Linked DNA regions of Homo sapiens: region 2 is linked to region 1. Evidence: promoter capture Hi-C in 16 types of primary human blood cells and fetal thymus (Javierre and others, 2016). All regions are on one chromosome and are shown on one strand. Each heading gives the region's core, a stretch centred on a gene start or on the middle of the fragment in contact. The rest is flanking DNA. Distances are from core to core; before and after follow the strand shown.

The links. The method cuts DNA at HindIII sites, captures the fragments that hold promoters and counts their contacts. A CHiCAGO score of 5 or more calls a contact.
Region 2: a fragment that was not itself captured here is called in contact with the fragment with the promoter of FGF5 in region 1 in 1 of 17 cell types (erythroblasts); the score reaches 5.7 in erythroblasts.

What each region holds. Positions count from the first base shown.
Region 1 is chr4:80,264,584-80,269,733 of GRCh38, forward strand. It overlaps FGF5 (fibroblast growth factor 5), which reads left to right and starts at 2,081. Exons shown (of 3, transcript NM_004464.4): 1 at 2,081-2,596. The coding sequence starts at 2,242. RefSeq lists enhancers at 1,776-2,307, 4,050-4,620. The HindIII fragment of the contact is 3,016 bases long and covers 2,010-5,025 here.
Region 2 is chr4:78,971,110-78,976,669 of GRCh38, forward strand. It overlaps LINC01088 (long intergenic non-protein coding RNA 1088), which reads left to right and starts at 639. Exons shown (of 6, transcript NR_038342.1): 1 at 639-767; 2 at 1,891-1,943. The HindIII fragment of the contact is 1,547 bases long and covers 3,510-5,056 here.

The DNA of each region.
Region 1 (5,150 bases), core at 831-3,330:
AAACAAGGATGGTTGTTTCAGTGCAGGCGGGGCTGCAGAAACTGAGAGAAGGGAGCAAAGACAAGAGGCTGATAACAGCTCCAGAAACTGGACTCCAGAGTCCTCTTGACCTCCTGGGTTTAGACAGGGGGCTGATAGTGCAGCTGGGGCAGGAACCACTCTCCTCCTCTTTCAGCAGACTCCTTGGGAAAAGGAAAGGGAGAAACAAGCAGCTGGATTTGCTTTGGAGAATCTTCGTCACTTGAGGAATGGGCTGTGTATTTGCGTGGCATGGGGGAACTTACAAATGGCATTCAGCAGCATCAATGTGGCTTAAACCCTGACAGCTTTGCCACAGACCTCAGGGCATTGCCTGAAGAAGGAACAGCACCCAGGTTCAGAACCATCCTACAATCATCCTCCCCAGAAGAAGGTGATTTCAGTCAAGTAGACCATTCTGAGAGATACTGTGACTGTTCTCAATGTCTACTTTTAGGGTTGCCTTGTAAGGATCTGCCTACCCACCCTAGTTAAGGGAGAAGTATATAACTTGAGCCTAGAACAGTGGACAGGGGGTGTGTTCAGCTCTGGACAGTATCTCATGTAGTGTGCCCATGTTATGCACATCTATGTGTGATGTCCTCTTTCTTTATCACAGTGGTTTTACTACACTTTCCAGGTAACCTTCTGTTTTACAAGTACTTTGATGTTACTCTGGCGGTGGAAGATTCCAAACCTGAAAAATCTGCATTGTTTTATATGCGTTTCATTATTGAGATGGAAAACCTTAAGTAGGTACTCAATAATGGGTAAGGCCGTTTCTTAGCTTCAACCTTGGTTCATCTGAATTGACCTTATCAGTCAATAGCACGGGCCGTTTCATTAAAATAACCAATGAATAATGTATCATAGCTTAGTTTAAAGTTTCAAATATGTTTTTAGACAGAAACATTCCAAGCATGCAAGTCAGGTGTATTTCCCAGATAAATAACAGTCTGGGGACGTTGCCCGTACAGGGAAATTCTCTGTTCTCAAGGAAATTTTCCCTTCTCGGGTTTCCTGAGGTTGAAATCCAGCGCGCACGTCATTAATCATTCACTGAGGTCGGTCCCTCAGTCAATGGCAGGTCTGGGTAAGCTAAAGCGAGCAGTTAGCTAACCCTTCCTGCCACGGGGATCCTGGGGCGAAAGAGGACAACTGGGCGGTCAGTTACATGTGCTGGTGTCCAGCCGCTGCCTCTCTTTCCCCGGTCGGAGCGCGGGGGTGCGTGTGCCCTCACTCTCACGAATACAGACGGAGAGCTTCCCAGAAGGAAAAACAAATTCGTCATAATGTTCAGCGCAGCCGAGAGTTTCCAACAAGAAAGCAGCTCCAGTCGTGGCATGATGACTCAGGGTGGCGTTTTAAACGCTGAATAAACCCATTCCTTAGCTCTTTAATAAATCGCTAATAACAGCAAAAACAGCCTTCTCCCCGAACCGCGCCACACCAAAGGCTTCCCAAGTTGGGCTGCGAATCCCTGTTTGGTTTTCCAACGCCGAAAGACGTAGAAGCAGTGGGATCTCCTGGTGGGACGCATTTCTCCAAGGGCTCCCAGAGAGAGGACGAGATAGCAGGGTTTACAGGGCAAAGAGAGGAGAACCTGGAAATCGTGTCCTGGGGGGCAAGAGTGCGTTGCCCAGTCACAAGTGTGCTGTAGAGGTGGGAGAGGACAAGGACCCATTTCCACATTTCAACCCTCCGTTTCTATCGCTGCCCCTGGAGGACTCAGCTGCTAACGCCGAGCTCGTTTCCACGCGGCTCTGGTCCTAGTCGGGGAATCCGGGTGGCCGCGCGACGCGAGAGAACTGCTGGGATGCGTGGCCCTGGTATGGGCGCACCCAGCGTCCGGGGCGCAGGTTCTCTCAGCCCAGCTTCTCCTCCCACTCACTCGCTCGGATCTCCTCCCTCCTTCACATCCCCCGCCCCCGGGACCGCGAGGCTCCCTCCCCGCACCGGCCAGTGAGTACACAAAGCCGCGGGTGAGGGGAAGCTTCGCAGGCGTGCACGGAGCAGTGAGATCACTGGCGTTATAAATATCCCGGTGCCAGCGCGGAGATCCGCTCGGGTGGCCTCTCTCTTCCCCTCTCCCCTTCTCTTCCCCGAGGCTATGTCCACCCGGTGCGGCGAGGCGGGCAGAGCCAGAGGCACGCAGCCGCACAGGGGCTACAGAGCCCAGAATCAGCCCTACAAGATGCACTTAGGACCCCCGCGGCTGGAAGAATGAGCTTGTCCTTCCTCCTCCTCCTCTTCTTCAGCCACCTGATCCTCAGCGCCTGGGCTCACGGGGAGAAGCGTCTCGCCCCCAAAGGGCAACCCGGACCCGCTGCCACTGATAGGAACCCTAGAGGCTCCAGCAGCAGACAGAGCAGCAGTAGCGCTATGTCTTCCTCTTCTGCCTCCTCCTCCCCCGCAGCTTCTCTGGGCAGCCAAGGAAGTGGCTTGGAGCAGAGCAGTTTCCAGTGGAGCCCCTCGGGGCGCCGGACCGGCAGCCTCTACTGCAGAGTGGGCATCGGTTTCCATCTGCAGATCTACCCGGATGGCAAAGTCAATGGATCCCACGAAGCCAATATGTTAAGTAAGTTACTCGCTCTCCTACAAAACCCGTCCTAGGCGGCCGCGGAAGATTCGGGAGGGACAGCAGGTATTCGCCGGGACACAGGCTCACCTTCCTGAGCCCAGGCCACTGGGACCAAGCTGATACTCAGAAACAGCCGGGCGGGTTGGGTGGAGATGCATCTATATGGCGTGCGCACACGCACCCCTCTCCTGGGCATGAGGAATTGCGATTTCTCAGGTGTATGTTACCTAGAGGCTGGTGCCCAGACGGGTACCTTGTTTTCAGTTTGCTCTAGCCTCAAAGACGAGTCCCCAGCCATGACAGGAGAGAACAAAAAACTCATTTCTTCTCACTCAATTTGTTTACCTTCTGCTTATGAACTAGCCTGGCATTTTTCATTAGGCATCAAAGGCAGCCCTTCTCCCTATCCATAACTGAAGTTATTTTTTGAAAAGAAGAATCAAATCCCAAATACTTCCCTCTTCCATCCGCTACCATAAACCTCAAATTAATATTGTATATGTATATGTATATATGTATATAAGTCTATGTATACAATGTATACACATAGGTAGATAGATAGATAGATAGATAGATACACAGATAGATAGACAGACAGATAGATAACTAGGGGACACCAGACAGACATTCCTGCTTGGAAGAAGATTGTGCTCTAGAAAACTGGACGCGTTTAGAGAGGGAGACATGATAAACATTGAAATTACTAACTCCAGAGTTGGATTTAACAATGTTTAGTATCTTGAGACCATGACTACACCGTATTAGGAGAGTGGCCAGCCTTTGGTCCCCAAGAACAGTTAGGGGAAAGTTCCTTATTTTAGAAGAAACGCAGAGGTTAAATTTGGTAGGGGTGCAGATTTTGTAGGACTTTTTATAAACAAAGTTTTAAATTTTCCCTCTGAGTTTTTTCTTTCAGCACGCTCTCTTTTTTCCTTTCTCATCTCCTCTTCCCTTCCACCCCATCTATGTTTCCAGACCATCGCAGCCACTCCTCTGGTTTCTCTTCACTGCCTCTAGGCAGCTGGGGGCAGGGACGGTTTGGGGCTGTGAGTAGGAGTGGGGAGATCTCTGTGGGGCTTTTGCTCAGTAGGGCCAGATCGCTCTTCCAGCGCGGGTTGGTCCACCAGGCAGAGCCCCAGCCAGGGCCTGTCAGGTACCCAGGGAGACCGGAAATGTAGCCAGGAGACAGCAGCGCTCACAGTCACCTGGTTTCAGTGTCAGCCTGGTTGCTCCTAGATGTTCCTAACTTGCTCCATCTCAGACCAAAGACTCCACGGGCCATTGGGCTCCTTCTTACACAGGCTCCAGAGGAGCGTGGACACCACCGGCGGTCTGAAGATTTGGCAGCCAGCAGTCTCCAGAGGGGGGTCGGAGGCGCGCAAGTGGGTAAGGCGGTAGGCTGGCTAGCCTCCTCCGGTGGGTTAAGGGGGCCTAATGCGGAAGACCTGATGGTTCATGCTGAGAGAAAAGCAGGTCTATGCCCGCCCCTCTGCGCCTGTCTAGTCTATCTGATCGCGCTGATTCAGCAGCCTGCGGCGCACGTGGTGAGGGCGCCTGGAGCGCCCAGCTGGAGAGAGGGCCCTCCGCACACGCACCAGCGAGTCCCAGGGCCTCCCTCACACTCCCGAGAGGAATCTATTTCCATATTTTAGAGTTTATTTCACTCATCGAATAACTGCTCATTTGGGGGATAAAGGGCAAGATCTGTTGGGGTGAAATGGAATTTTCTGAGATTTGAGGAATAATCAGTAACATCTATTTATTTCCATTCGTCCTTCTCATTTTGTCTCAACGGTCTTTTGACTCCATCAGCCATCACAGCTTATTCCCACTTCCGGCAACCTTTCCTTCTCTCTTACAAGAAAACTTTCTTTCTTCTGTTCTTCTTGTAACGACCCGTGGAGTCATTGGTCTGAGATGGAGCAAGTTAGGAACATCTAGGAGCAACCAGGCTGACACTGAAAGACAGGTGACTGTGCGCGCTGCTGTCTCCTGGCTATGTTTCCACTCTCCCTGGGTACATGACAGAGCACCAACAGAGGATAACTTCCGTGAGCTCAAGGGCGGACCCCAAACTAGCAGGCAGCAAGCAGCAGGTTGGAGCCCAGGGAGCTCAGAGAATGCTTCTGGGGAGGGTTTAGGTGTGCTAGAGATCTCAGAAAGCAAGGCTCATTCCCAGGATATTCACCATCTTCTCTACGAAGACACTATATGAGACGAAGGTAGTTTTACAGCTTAGGCCTTGCTAGAGGGGGTGTTGTAGAAAAGCAAAGGGGGGAAAATAAGAGCAGATCAAAAAGAGTGCACCCAGATAAACAAGACATTGACCACTACCCAGTATGTAACATGTACATTTTCTTTTAAAATCCATGTTGAAAGATATCTACAAGAGAACAGGGATGTTTCCTAAAACAGTGCCGACAAAAAGCTTAATTTAAACTTTTTCCTAATTTATTCTTGTTTACAATAACCTTTCAGAGTTTAGTTTCTGTGTCTTTCACATGACTTGCTTTCATTCATGCCATAAATCATGTACCCAATATAAGATACC
Region 2 (5,560 bases), core at 3,033-5,532, 1.3 Mb before region 1:
AACGTCTGTGCTTTCTAGAGTCTCAGCCTGTTGACTGTTTTCTCATTTGATTATTGCTCACATTTTTTCTCTTTGTGGGTCTCAAAATTTTTTACTCTATGTTGGATATTGTGAGAAAAATAGTAGAGATTGAGAAAATTAATATTTATTTACCCTAAAAAAGTGCATACTTTTTTTGTTAGACCTTTTCTTGGGAAAGTTGAGGAAATCTGTTGTATATTTGAGGTATGTGGGATTATTTCAGCTTTAGTTGGATTAGTTTACCACTGACTTCAAATGTTTTGAAAACAGAATAAGGTCTTTTCTATCACTAGGGCTTGTGATCTGAGCACTGGCAAGATTTCAGAGATCTCTGTGTGCTCCCAGACTGTTTTGGTTGCTAGGGAGTTCTTTTTCCTTTCCTGTTTCTGACTTTATTAATCTCAGGAGGTCTCTCTTCTTTTTGCTCTGCTGCTTCAAGCCTTTGGCATCCAGTGCCTTGTACTTAATGAAAGTTTGCAACACTCTGAGCAACTGTTCTCAGTTCTTCTGCCTTATTTCTGGCCTCCGTTGCAACTGTTTTGACCTAGTGAAGGCCTAGACTTTCTCAGACAGATTTCTTTTAACTCTTCTGCCCTGACTCCAGTCTTCACTGGGATGCTGCCTTGCACTTAGGGAAGGTTCACATGCCTCAAGGATCTCTCTCTCTCAGATTTCTTGACTTTCCCTCAGTCTTCAGTATAGTCCTCCTCTGTGCCTGGTGAAGACCTGTGGTAAAGTGCTGGCAGGTGAGTACAGCTTGATGGTGTGGATGGGTTCCTTGGGACTCCAGCATGTCAAGCTAGTTCACACACAGGTCTTAATAGTTGTCTAAGATTCATGTAGTTCCTCATTTTCTTTTCTGTGGTAGATTCTGTTTCCTGCTGCACCACCAGGGATGAAAAAATTCACTGGTCTCTTCTTTTATAGAACGGGATCATAACTATACAGATTTTAGTTAAGTTAGCTTTATTAGTATTCTCAGCTTTTTTAATGGGATAAAAAGCAATGATATTATGGATTATCTGACTTTTCCTTTAGTATTAGGTTTGCCCAATCATCTCCATGATTTCTAAATTCCAAACTTCTTGAATAAATAAAATTTAAAAGAAAACATTGTACTAAAGTCAAAAGAAGGGTTTTAAGGCATAGTTCTACTTTTTACTGTCCATGTATCCTTGGATAAACTACTTCTCTGAAATTGTATTGCTTGCTTTTTCAGCTTGTTGAGTCTTTCATAAATTTAAGGGTTGGAATATGTCTCTCAGACAGAAATTGATAGAGCTTTGCAAGTCTTCAGATGTATTCAAGTTTGGTAAACACTGGGTTAGGCCATGGATAAAAGATTGGTCTTTGTGTGTTCATAAGAAAACCTGGATAGGAAGCTCTTCTTCTTACAGAAAGCCTCGATTGAGAAGTAAAGCTGGGACTATTAGTCCGTGTTCTGCAGTGAAATAATGGTAGCCATGCATAGATTGATTTAAGATCTATGCATGTTAAGATACCTGTCTTAACACAGGTAATAGTCACATCAGGGAAAAGAGCAACAGGCAGAACTCTTGGCTTTGTGTAAGAGCCCAAGGAAAGGGCCTGAGAGAGTACACACTGTATCAAAGTGTAGTGTTAATGTGAGGTGTCGGGAAAAAGGTCTTGGGTGTGTGTGTGTCTGCATAATATATGTGTGGAAAACTCTCAGTGCTGGTCCTTTGAGATATGTCTGTGAAAACTCTTTCAATTAACAAAAATAACCAACATTAATTGAATACTTTTTATGTGCCAGTCACTGTTCCAAGTTCTCTACAAAAGGTAATTCTTTAGTCCTTATAGTAATACTGTAGTGGTGCTGATACTATTTTTATCTTCATTTTTCAGAGAGGAAGCTAAATCACGTAAAAATTAAGAAACAGCTCAGCGTTTCACAGCTAGTAAGTAACAGAGATGGGCTTGAGACCCAGATTGGCAGGATCCAGGTCTTGTGCTCATGACGACTCTGCTATGGTGCCTCCCTTGAAAGCATCTTAGTGCTTTCATTGTTGTTTTTGTTATTGTTATTCTTACTATTATTTTGTACCCCCTTGGTGGATAGTGGCTGTGAATTTGTAGTTGTTGGTGTGTTTCTTCTGGAGCGTAAGCTCCTTCCTCCTCTATTGTTAGCCAGAGTTTTTGTTACCTTTGAAATAATTGCTAAATCAACAAAACATCTGTTACATTGCTGCTGCTCGAATGGCTATCTTTTAGAATTAGCACTCTTCTTTCTGAATCTGATGCCACAGCCTTTTGAACTTAAGGTATTTGGATGTGTCAGTAAAGGGGCTGTGGTAGCTGTGGTGACAGCAACTCCAATGGTGGTGACCGTAGAGAATGTGGCAGAGCTGTGAATGAGATGAAGAGATTTAGTGATGGCAGAGGAAACTTTGGGATTTCACAACTTTCTTCCTCCAAAAACTATTTGAAAGCAGATATGAGGAGTGGGAAATACAGAAACAATTCCAGCCTTTGTGCACCTTACAGCATAATGAGTGATGCTCACAGCTGATAAATAATAATAGCAAATACCTGTATAGAACTTACTATGTACTGGACACTTTCCCAAATATTTTACATGCGTTATCTCACATGTTCCACTCAATAATCCCAGAAGATGGAACTCTGATCTCTAGTTTGCAGTTGAGGAAACTGAGGCAAAGCAAGGTTAAGGAGCTTGCTCAAGATCCCACAACCAGTAGGTGACAGAACTGATATTTGAACCTAGGAAGATTGGCTTGAGAATCTGACACTTAAACACTATCCTATTCTGCTAACAAATAATGAATCAGTTGGCAACTATGGTAAGAGCTACAGAGACAATGAGAAGATGAGGGGGATTGAGCTGAGTCTGGAGGGTTTGGGAAGACTTGCCTGATGAAGTGATGAGGAGTGATGAAAAAGTCAGCCAGGTGAAGGGGCTTGTGTATATGTACATGTGTGTGCCTGTGTTCCTCTGCCCATGCATGTGGCATGGTCAGGGAGACACATTTTTAGGACTTGTGTAACACATCTCTGTAAATAGCTTCAAAATAAAATATCAATTTGTGATTCTTGTAATGGAAATTTACTTCATACACAACTTTCAGGCACTGTTTTGTAGCATAATTCAAAGTGATGCTGTCTTTGTATACGGCTTTAAGACAGTTTTTGAGCACATATCTCTGCATGTCTGTGTCCTGCTTTGTGGGCAGTAAGAAGCTTGGGAATCCCGGAAAGCTGAATTCACATTCCAGCTTTTTAGCCGTGGTCATTGCTCAGTTATTTGGGGTTGTGTTCTCTGTTTGTTGATTAATAGAAAATGCATTAAAAGTGCATAAAATAGAAAAATTACCCCCAATCAGTGCAAACGTCCACATATCTGAAGGCTTCTGTTGCAGGTGCCTGGTAATCATCAGAACCCCTCTAGTGAGACCACCAGGTTATTTCTGGGCTCCATCCCAGAGTCAATGGTCCCTCAAAAAGGAAGCTTTTGTTTACTGTAAGCAAAACCAAATGGGATTAGGAGGGCCATGGATTCAAGAACTCTAAAGACAGGGTTGAGAAATTAAGTGAGAAGGAGAAGACAGAGGAAGATCTAAGCATTGAGATTACTCCTCTGCCCAACTTAGTTGTGTTCTAACATTTTTAAAAACGAGATTAACTGGGAAGCAAATAGAAATTAGACTATTTATTAGCAAGCCTTTAGCAGTTTCTCATCAAGTGACACATTTGGTGTTTAGTGTTCCTAATGAGTTGCACTAGGGTTATTTTTACACTTTTGGGCATCTGTGGAGTGGTAAATGTGTTCCTAAATATTAGATATAATTACAATAAAATATGTTTATATAAATTTACTTGCTACCAGATTCAGACTAGTTTTGTTTTAATCAGGGTTTAGAATTATACATGACTTTCATCTCTCTTCACCTTTATCATCATTAATCAAGAGCTGACTATATCAGATGTCTGCACTTGAGTGGACACACTGGATCTCTTTGAATTTTGGTTTTCGAATGATTTTAATCCTCTTTTTCTTTTTTTTTATTGTTTATTTTTAACATTGAGATTATTTATTAGTGACTACAAGTGGAAACAGAGCAGAGGTGTGCAACGCTCATCACCCAGATAACTAATTTGCCCTTTAAATTGCATATCTGCCTCTTTTTTTTTTGTTTGTTTCTTTTTTTTTTATTATTATACTTTAAGTTTTAGGGTACATGTGCACAATGTGCAGGTTAGTTACATATGTATACATGTGCCATGCTGGTGCGCTGCACCCACTAACTCATCATCTAGCATTAGGTATATCTCCCAATGCTATCCCTCCCCCTCTCCCCCCACCCCACCACAGTCCCCAGAGTGTGATATTCCCCTTCCTGTGTCCATGTGATCTCATTGTTCAATTCCCACCTATGAGTGAGAATATGTGGTGTTTGGTTTTTTGTTCTTGCGATAGTTTACTGAGAATGATGATTTCCAATTTCATCCATGTCCCTACAAAGGACATGAACTAATCCTCTTTTTCTTTCCTCCCTCCCTTCCTTCCTTCCCTTTTTACTTACTGCCTTCCTTTCTTCCTTCCTGGCAGTGGAGCAGAAGATAAGGAAACCAAGTCTGAGGTTTGCTACTCAGAGGCTGGTGAGCTTGACTTGATCTTTCTCCTCGATAGTTTTATTGCTGGTAAAATGAGACAATTCATTAAATAGATCCCCTAAGAGCCCTGCAAGTCATAAAAAGTCTACATTTTCATTTTACATGAAAATATTTGACAGTACTTTCAGTTAAACAGTTTCAGTTTTTGCCTGTTTAAAAGAAGGTTGTAGGCCTAGCTCTCCACCCCTCTAAACCCGAGAAAGGATTCCCACAAATACAGCTTCACCAAATTTATAGGCTCCCAGCTGAGTTAGCAGAAACCAGGCAGCTGAGTGGATGAGCTTCTATTAGCACAATGGTGTTTGGTTATGCAGCTGAGTGGATGAGCTTCTACTAGCACAATGGTGTTTGGTTATGCAGCTGCAGAACTGGGGAGAAAAGCTTGAGACAATATTTATGAGGTGCGACTGTGACCTGAACTTTACAACTAGTTATCCTGGAGAATGCAGGTAATTCTTTTTTATTTCCTTGGAAAAATAAATAGCTATGTAAGGTAGGCTGAAAAATGGCCCTGCAAAGATGTCCATTCTGAGATGTTCTAATCTCAGAATCTGCAAATATGTTAATCTACGTAACAAAAGGAACTTTGCAGATGTGATAAAGGGTGTGAGATGGGAGGTTATCTTTTATTTTATTTTATTTATTATTATTATTTTTTAATTATACTTTAAGTTTTAGGGTACATGTGCACAACGTGCAGGTTTGTTACATATGTATACATGTGCCATGTTGGTTTGCTGCACCCGGTAACTCGTCATTTAACATTAGGTATATCACCAAATGCCATACCTCCCCACTCCCCCGACCCCACAACAGTCCCCAGAGTGTGATGTTCCCCTTCCTGTGTCCATGTGTTCTCATTGTTCAATTCCTACCTGTGAGT